2 separate regions of the Homo sapiens genome follow, and region 2 is linked to region 1. The links are contacts of gene promoters, found by promoter capture Hi-C in human tissues and cell types (Jung and others, 2019). All regions are on one chromosome and are shown on one strand. Each heading gives the region's core, a stretch centred on a gene start or on the middle of the fragment in contact. The rest is flanking DNA. Distances are from core to core; before and after follow the strand shown.

Region 1 (4,706 bases), core at 1,149-3,648:
TTACTTGGGAGAAGGGGAATTGAGGGGGAGTCTCTGAAGCAGGACGTCAAGAAATTTCAGGTGGAGGAAGGCAACAGTCTCACAGGGCGTCAAATCAATCAAGAAGATTTTCTTTGGCTGTAATTGCGTAGACAGAAGAAAACTGAGAAAACCCATGCCACTCAGTCTCATTTGCAGGCTACACACACACACACCGCAAGATACCAGCCTCAAGGAAGAACACCTGTTCTAACCCTGTGCCTGCCGGGGGCGGCGGGGGGGGGCGGTGCGCGCGTGGCCATCCCAGGGAACTCATGGGCCATCTCAACAGCAGGGAGCCCGGATGCACTCAGGACCTGGCTGCACCAGAAAGACGCAAAAGGCCCCGCCAAATGTGTCCTGGCTAACTCGCCAAAAAGAGGCCTTAGAGAAAGGTTGTGAAAAGGGATCAGGCAGCCCAGATGTTTACCTTGGGCTGCAAAAAAGACGTAACCACAGGGCAGAACAGTTTATTTTCCAGAAAGGGTTTTCTTGCAAAAAAAAAAAAAAAGTAATCTTGAGGGTCAGAAAAGACTTTTGTGAGGTGTGGGAAAGAGAGGAAGGACCTCCATAGAAGTCAGTGTTTCTTCTAACAACCATTTCCGTGCCAGTGGGCCGCAATAGTCAAATTTCTCTCTAGGCTATCTCCACCTTTCTCCCTATATGGTCCTAGACTGAGAATCACACCTGTAGGCACTGAAAAGCCTCGAGTAACACCTAGCCTACCCGTCCCCACCACCCCCACCCCTCCACCGCCACCCGCTACGGTGCAGGTCCCTCCCTGATCTCCTATCGCAGCCAGCGCCTGCAGGTCTAAGCTCCATCCTCAGGTCGTCAGGAGCCTGGCCCCTGGAAATCATTCCCGCGCCTCACACCTGTGCTATTCTCTTGACACAATCTCCACACAGAAAAGCCCCAGGGCAGACTCCCGCCCCTTAAGCCACAGTGATCCTCTCACACACAGCCCCTCCACCCCCACGGCCAGCGGAGGCTGCGGAGTGCCAGCAAGGAGCGGCTCCACTCGGTGCCCCGAATGCGCGCACGGAGAACTGAGAACTCAAAAGTGCACCCGGAGTGCAAGGGGCGTGTGACTGCAGCCCGGCCGGCCCGGAGGCCCACTCCCGCCCTCGCCCACCCAGCGGGGCAGGCTGGCCTTTACCTCCTGGAAGAGCTCCAGACTATAGGTGTTGTCGTCGTCAGCGAAGAAGAGCACGCCGGGCTGCGCGCGCTGGTGCTGGTGCCTCTGGCGCAGCCAGGCGAGGCCCGCGTTGCGCTGCTCAGTGGCGCGCGGCAGCCCGGGCCGCTTGTAGCGCCGCGGCGTGGGCACGTGCAGGTGAGTGCTGGGCAGCCCGGCCCGCGCCAGGAAGCGGCTCACCAGCTCGCTGCGCGCCGCCGCGTCCTCCACCAGGATCCAGTGCAGCTGCGCCACCTGGCGGAACGTGTTGGCCAGGCGGGTCAGCTCCGCTTTCTGCACCGGGCGGCTGTAGGTGGGCGTGATGGCATAGATGGTGGGCAGCTGCGGCTCCGGCTGTGGCTGCGGCCGAGACTGGTTGCGCTTTTGGGTCCCGTGAGCCGGGCCGCCCCTGCGGAGCGGGAGTCGGGCGCCCCCGCGGCCCACCGCGTAGGGAGAGAAGTAGGGGCGCGGGGTGAGCGGGGGCACTGGCCTGCGCGTGTCCACGTCGAGCATGATGATGACAATTAGGATCCAGGGCAGGAGGATAAAGAAGCGGGTGAAAAGCGCGGACTTCATGGTGCACGCTCCCTGGCCTCTCGGACACCCCAGAGAGGGGCGAGCCGAGGGACCCCAGTGCGCAGCTTGGACAGCGGCGGCGCCAGCACTTAGGGAGTGGTGATGGGTGCGCTGTCCATGGGGCCGAGGGCGCTGCAGAGACCTGGAGCCGCGGGGCTCACTACCTGGGCGTGGAGGAGCGGCAGGTTCGCGCAAGCTAGAGCGACAAGGGGTGCAGGCGGGCGGGCAGGGGCTGCCCCCGACTCCAGGTGAGCTGGCGGGAAGCGGGACTCGGTCCAGCCGCGCGCCGCCGGTCCCGGAGTTGTGCCGAGTGCGGGAAAGGCGCTGATCCCCACCGCGCTCTTTCTGAAGAGTGGAAGCCGAGAAGCGGCACCCGGTGCGCCTCGCCGCTCCAGTCCGGCGGTGCTGCGGGCACAAGGGCTCCAGCCGCGGGCCCCCAGGACGCTCTCTGGGACGCCTTCGAGGGCGGGCGGCGGCGCTGGGGGCTTTCCTTCCTCACATTCCCGCCGGGGTGGCGAGGAGCGGGTGGAGACGCTGGGGGTTGTGTCCCGGCTGTGTTCGCGCGCCGCAGCGGAAGCCTGCTCTCAGTCCCTTGCTCTTGTCTTCTCAGAACCTCTCCGGATCCAGCAGCAAGATCCCAAAGCAAGGAAAGAAAGAAAAAGCGAGGGGGCGGGGGCGCTGCAGAATCCAGCGTCCTCCCAAGTCCTCCTGTGGGAAGACAGCAGCGCTGCTACTGGTGGAGAGGGGCTGCGAGAGGGAGGCGCGGAGGGACCCCTTGGCTCTCCGCCGGGTCTGGCGCTAACGGCCCCGCGAGCAAGCTCGGGAGGCGGCCGCTGCACCGCGGGTGGAGGAGCGGGAGGAGCGTCCCCGCGGGGCTGCACGACCTCCTGGAGGGGGTGATGCTCGTTCACCTCTCTTCAGCTTTGTGAAATACCGCAAGGTCTTTGGAGATGAGCCAGGAAAATCCATTCACGTGCGGAAATTTGCCGGGCTACGCGCGTTGCTGCTGATGCCTAGGGTTCGGAGTGAAAGGAGGGGAGAAAGCGAAGGGATTCCTCCTCCTGCTCCCAGCTGCTGCGTTGATGTGCTGGGGTGTATCGAACAGCGGCAACAAAAAGCGCTTTCACTGCAAGGCAGACATCAATAGGAGCCCACGGAGATGGAGGGGTGCTGCACATAGGTGTTTGGCATGTGAGACAGTCCATAAGAAAGAATCAATTCGGAGGGCTGCTGCCTGACTGCAGTTTGATCATGGCGGGTGGGGGCGGGTGGAATTCCTAAAACTCCAGCCGAGCATGTTTAACTTATTTTTCTTCAGTAATTTGGAGTCACGGTCCCTCCCAGTTCTTCGCTGTCACCGGAATTACTCCGTTTGGCTCTCCCAAGGCTCCTGTCAAGAAGGCCTAAGAAGTAGAATGGCCTTCATTTTCAGGATAAGGAAGCTGAGGTTCAGGGTTTAAAATGATTTCTCTGAGGTCAGTGGCAAGTGGCATATGGAAATAGAACGTGGGTCTCCTGCGTGTGTCTATAGCTAGTGGCGTCCTCACTGCATGGCCTGCAGAAATCCCACCCAACACAGCCGGGCCGGTTTGGCCTTCCTACATATAAAGATGGTGCGATTGAAATCAAACAGAGTGTACCATGACGAATAGAACCATGATAGGGTCTGGAAGACCCCAAGTAAACAGTTGGCACTTAGTTTAGACACTTTTTGCTGTCTAGCTGGCCTACTAGCTGAGTGCCTGACCTTCTGTAACTTACCAGGAAGAAGGGCTGTGCTTCCCAGGCAGGTCCCAGGGAAGTGCTTGCAAAGCAGAAGGAAAGCTCCAGACTGTTCTGCCCTAGCCTATGATAAATAATTTCTGAGCCCATCTTGTCTGGGTTGTCTGCCTTTCTCGGGCTTGTTCACAAATAAATCTCTCTCCGACTGTGCGTTCTGGTGCAACTGAGAGCTCTGGGGCGAATGGCTCTCCAGCTTTTCTGACAGCTCCTCTTCTCCCAGTCCTACCCCTGAACCCCCCACCTGTTAAAAGGCATTGGCTCATCTGTGAATTTCCCTAACTTCCTCTTCAGATTCTGAAACGTGAGAGTGAAATTTCAGACTAACACCCAGCCACCCCAACAACTCCCTAGAGCTAGCCTTCTGTCCCAACTTCCCTGTGCCATCCACAACTCATACATTAAACTCTGCAGATTAGTGCATCCTAAACATAGAAAACAACGAAGCCATTAGACCTCTTCCCATTCTCTCGAATAGCCTAATGTGCCTCTGAATATAACACAACCTTGGAAATGTATTCTGCACCAGCATCATGCCAGGATGGGGAAGAGGAAAGAAGTCAAGGCCTCCCTTTAAGAAAAGGTTTTTCTTAGGAAGCAGTGCACCCCTCTCCCCTAAGTTACTGAAGTCTGGTTCATCCTGTTGGAAATTTTAAATTTGGTTAAAATGCCTTGTGTTTGCTGGAATAAAATTCATGTTGTTACTGAATTGTACTAAAAACATCACTAACCTTTGTTAGTGGGGAACTTTTGGTTGGTCCAACTATGCCATAAAACCTATTTGCTATTACATCCTCTCCAGGAACCAGGGCTATTCAGAGATGAAACACTGTGTGTGTGTGTGTGTGTGTGTGTGTGTGTGTGTGTCTGTGTGTGTGAGAGAGAGAGAGAGAGAGAAAGACAGACAGACAGGGTCTCTCTTCAATGCCAAGGCTGGGGTGCAGTGACTTGAACACAGCTCACTTCAGTCTCGATGTCCTGGGCTCAAGCAATCCTCCTGCCTCAGCTTTTTGAGTAGCAGGAACTACAGATATAAGCTGCTACACCCTGCTAATTTTTTCATTTTAGTTTTTGTAGACTGGGGTCTCCTATTACCCAAGATGGTCTTGAACTCCTGGGCTCAAGCAGTCCTTATGCCTTGGCCTCCCAAAGTGCTGGG
Region 2 (4,706 bases), core at 1,597-4,096, 620 kb before region 1:
TCACTTTCAGGTACACCAATCAAATGTAGGTTTGGTCTTTTCACATAGTTTCATATTCTGGGAAGCTTTGTTCACTCCTTTTCATTCTTTTTTCTCTATTCTTGTCTTCATGCTTTATTTCATTAAGTTGATCTTCAATCTCTGATATCCTTTCTTCCACTTGATCGATTCAGCTATTGATACTTGTGTATGCTTCATGAAGTTCTAGTCCTGTGTTTTTCAGCTCCATCGGGTCATTTATGTTCTTCTATAAACTGGTTATTCTAGTTAGCCCTTCCTCTAACCTTTTTTCAAGGTTCTTAGCTTCTTTGCATTGGGTTAGAACATGCTCCTTTAGCTCGGAGGAGTTTGTTATTACCCACCTTCTGAAGCCTACTTCTGTCAACTCGTCAAACTCATTCTCTGTCCAGTTTTGTTCCCTTGCTGGTGAAGATTTGTGATCCTTTGGAAGAGAAGAGGTGTTCTGGGTTTTGGAATTTTCAGCTTTTTTGCGCTGGTTTTTCCCCATCTTCATGGATTTACCTACCTTTGGTCTTTAATGTTGGTGACCTTCAGAAAGAGTTTTGTGTGGAGGTCATTTTTGTTGATGTTGATGCTATTCCTTTCTGTTTGTTAGTTTTCCTTCTAAGAGTCAGGCCCCTCTGCTGCAGGTCTGCTGGAGTTTGCTGGAGGTCCACTCCAGACCGTTTGCCTGGGTATCACCAGCAGATGCTGCAGAACAGCAAAGATTGCAGCTTGTTTCTTTCTCTGGAAGCTTTCTCTCAGAAGGGTACCCGCCAGATGCCAGCCAGAGCTCTCCTGTATGAGGCGCCTGTCGAACCCTGCTGGGAGGTGTCTCCCAGTCAGAAGGCATGGGGTTCAGGGACCCACTTGGGGAGGCAGTCTTTCCCTTAGTAGAGCTTGAGCACTGTGCTGGGAGATCTGCCGCTCTCGTCAGAGCCAGCAGGCAGGAACGTTTAAGTCTGCTGAAGCTGCACCCACAGCCGCCCCTTCTCCCAGGTGCTGTGTCCCAGGAATTTGGGAGCTTCATCTATAAGCCCCTGACTGGGGCTGCTGCCTTTCTCTCAGAGATGCCCTGCCCAGAGAGGAGTAATCTAGAGAGGCAGTCTGGCTACAGCAGCTTTGCTGAGCTGCAGTGGGCTCTGCCCAGCTCAAACTTCCCATGGCTTTGTTTACTCTGTGAGGGGAAAACCACCTACTGAAGCCTCAGTGATGGCCGACGCCCCTCCCCCCACCAAGCTTGAGCATCCCAGGTTGACTTCAGACTGCTGTGCTGGCAGCTAGAATTTCAAGCCAGTGGATCTTAGCTTGCTGGGCTCCATGGGGGTAGGATCTGCTGAGCTAGACCACTTGGCTCCCTGGCTTCATCCCCCTTTCCAGGGGAGTGAACGGTTCTGTCTTGTTGGCATTCCAGGTGCCACTGGGGTATGAAAAAAAAAACTCATGCAGCTAGCTCGGTGTCTGTCCAAACGGCCGCCCAGTTTTGTGCTTGAAACCCAGGGCCCTGGTGGCGTAGGCACCCAAGGGAATCTCCTGGTCTGTGGGTTGAGAAGACTGCGAGAAAAGCGTAGTATCTGGGCCAGAATGCACCATCCCTCACAGCACAGTCCCTCACGGCTTCCCTTGGCTAGGGGAAGGAGTTCCCCAATCCCTTGTGCTTCCCTGGTGAGGCGACACCTGACCCTGCTTCATCTCGCCCTCCATGGGCTGCACCACTGTCTAACCAGTCCCAGTGAGATGAGCCAGGTACCTCAGTTGGAAGTGCAGAAATCACCTGCCTTCTGTGTCGATCTCGCTGGGAGCTGCACACCGGAGCTGTTCTTATTCTGCCATCTTGCCAGCCACCTCAAGTCCAAATCTTTTATAATGGGGAGTAAGCCTGTTGGGCCTTGCTCTGGAAGTAGGCACTTTTATTACAGTGGAGAGTAAACAAATTTTACTTTGCTCGAGATAAAGACACTGTTGCTACCTTCTTAGGCTGTTCACTATACAGACGTCCTTGAAAAAATAATCTGGAAAAAAACCAGTCAGTATCTCTGAGCATAAGTTGTGCAGAAACTTAAAGGACCCATGGAGAATTGTCTCCCAACACTAACCAACCAGTGAAACTCCACACAAAGATATGTGGTTCATGATTCTTTCTTTAAAGATTTCCAACTGAAGCTTAGCACAGCACTAACCTCAAAACTCCATGTTTTCCATTCCAATCCCAAATTTCCCCTTTATCTTTTTTCTTTTTTTTTTTTGCTCCTCAGCAGTTTCTCTGTATTGAGCCCATTCCTCACTCTCATTTTTGCTCTGGTGGCTGAACTACTTGCTCGTAGCCCCAGATCTTAGATTCGCCTCTGACTCATGTGTCTAGCTCATATCCTCTGGCAGGTTGCTCCCATAGATAATCTACCAGTAACAACTGCCTTATCTAACTGGTACTGGGACTCTGTTACTGCCCTGATAAGGGGGCCTCTCCCCTCAGAGAGCACATATTGACTATGAAACTGATCGCTTCCAGGAATATGTAGGACGATCTATAGGTGACGAAAATCATTACAGGCAACTGGGTTTGGGTTCAGCCTGCTCTAGCATTTCTCTTTGTTTTTTAATGTGTTTCATTCTGTTTATGTGCAATTTTAGTTAATGCTGTTTGGAATAGTCTTTCAGTCTGTAAACCCAATATGTTGCCATAGAAACAGTTCTCCATCTGAAATACATCCAATCAATTCTAAAATTATCATTCAGAAAATCTTCATAAATTAGAAGTAATCCAACAGATACCCAGAATGTCAGCATTTTCAGCATTTAGGTAATGAGCTGCATTTTCTCCTTTTATTTAATTATTTTAAAATCAAGAAATCAACAGCAAAGAATCCAACTTAGATACACAGATGCTCCCTGACTCGTGATACAGTTCCATTCCAATAAACCCATCATAAGTTGAAAATATGTTAAATTGAAAATACATTTAATATATTTAAGCTACAGAACATCATAGCTTAGCCTGGCCTACTGTAAATGCGCTCTGAACACTTACATTAGCCTAACGTGGGGCAAAATCATCTAAAACAAAGCCTATTTTATGATGAAGTGTTGAATATCTCATGTAATTTATTGAGTACTGTACTGAAAGTGAAAAAACAGAATGGTTATATGATATATAAAGTACAGTTTCTGCTGAATGCATATTGTTTTTGTACGATCATAAAGTCAAAAAAAATTCTAAGTCAAACCATTGTAAGCCAAGGACCATGTGTACATGGAAATAGAAAGATATTCAAGCTAGGAAAATTCTTCATTGATTATTTTATTCTGGAAACAACATTATTATAGAACAACATACGCCATTTAGAAAAGACAAGGTTATATTTCCTTTTTTAATTTTTTTTACTTTTATTTTAGGTTCAAGGGTATCTAGGTGTTCAGGTTTGTTATATAGGCAAACTGCATGTCACAGGGGTTTGGTGTACAGATTATTTTATCATGCAGATAGTAAGTATAATATTCAATAGGTATTTTTTTCTGATCCTCTCCCTCCTCCCACCCTTCACCCTCAAGTAGGCTCTGATGTATGTTGTTCCCCTCTTTGTGTCCATGTATTTTCATTGTTTAGCTTCCACTTACAAATGAGAATGTGCAGTATTTAATTTTCTTTTCCTGCATTAGTTGCTAAGGATAATGGCCTCCAGCTCCATCCATATTGCTGCAAAGGGCATGATCTCCTTTTTTATGGCTGTGTAGTATTCCATGGTGTATATATACCACATTCTTTTAATCCAGTCTACAGTTGATGGGCATTTAGGTTGATTCCATGTCTTTGCTATTGCAAATAGTGCTAAGATGAACATATGCATGCATTTGTCCTTATGGTAGAAGGATTTTTATCCCCTTGGGTACTCACCCAATAATGGGATTGCTGGGCCAAATGGTAATTCTGTTTCAAGTTCTTTGAGGAATCACCACACTGCTTTCTACAATGGCTGAACTAATTTACACTCCCAACAATAGCGTATAAGAGTATCCTTTTCTTTGCAACCTCATCAGCATCTACTTTTTTTTTTATCATAGCCACTCTGATTAGTATGAGGTAGTACATCATTGTGGTTTTGATTTCCATTTCTCTAATAATTAGTGATGTTGAGTTTTTTTCATGTGCCTGTTTGTTGCATGTATGTCTTCTTTTGAAAAGGTTCTATTCATATCCTTTGCCTACTTTCTAATGGGGTTGTTTGCTTTTCGCTTGTAACTTTGTATAAATTCCAAATAGATTCTGGATATTAGACTTTTGTTGGACGCATACTTTGCAAATATTTTCTATCATTCTGTAGGTTGTTTGTTTACTCTGTTGATAGTTTCTTTTGCTATGCAGAAGCTCTCTAGTTTAATTAGGTCCCGCTTGTTAATTTTTGTTTTTGCAACAATTGCTTTTAGTGTTTTCAGCATGAAATCTTTGCCAGGTCCTATGTCCAGAATGGTATATCTTAGATTATCTTTCAGGGTTTTTATAGTTTTAGGTTTTACATTTAAGTCTTTAATCCATCTTGAGTTGATTTTTGTATATGGTTTAAGGAAGGGATCCAGTTTCAGTCTTCAGCATATGGCTACTGAGTTATCCCAGCATCATATATTGATGGGAAGTCCTTTCCCCATTGCTTGTTTTTGTCAGCTTGGTTAAAGATCAGGTGGTTGTAGGTATGCAGAATCATTTCTGGACT

What was found. The method cuts DNA at HindIII sites, captures the fragments that hold promoters and counts their contacts. A contact is called where the count stands out against the background at its distance.
Region 2: a fragment that was not itself captured here is called in contact with the fragment with the promoter of B3GAT2 in region 1 in 2 of the 25 tissues and cell types used here (bladder and lymphoblastoid cells).

Annotation. Positions count from the first base shown.
Region 1 is chr6:70,954,662-70,959,367 of GRCh38, forward strand. It overlaps B3GAT2 (beta-1,3-glucuronyltransferase 2), which reads right to left and starts at 2,399. Exons shown (of 4, transcript NM_080742.3): 1 at 1,178-2,399. The coding sequence starts at 1,768. LOC124901229 reads left to right here and starts at 1,767. Exons shown (of 2, transcript XM_047419611.1): 1 at 1,767-1,867; 2 at 1,971-4,256. The coding sequence starts at 1,767. The coding sequence ends at 2,697. RefSeq lists silencers at 991-1,130, 1,601-1,730 and an enhancer at 1,659-2,174. The HindIII fragment of the contact is 7,853 bases long and covers 1-4,706 here.
Region 2 is chr6:70,335,245-70,339,950 of GRCh38, forward strand. No RefSeq gene overlaps it. Among named protein-coding and RNA genes, the nearest start is that of COL9A1, 35 kb to the left of the region's middle. The HindIII fragment of the contact is 6,663 bases long and covers 1-4,706 here.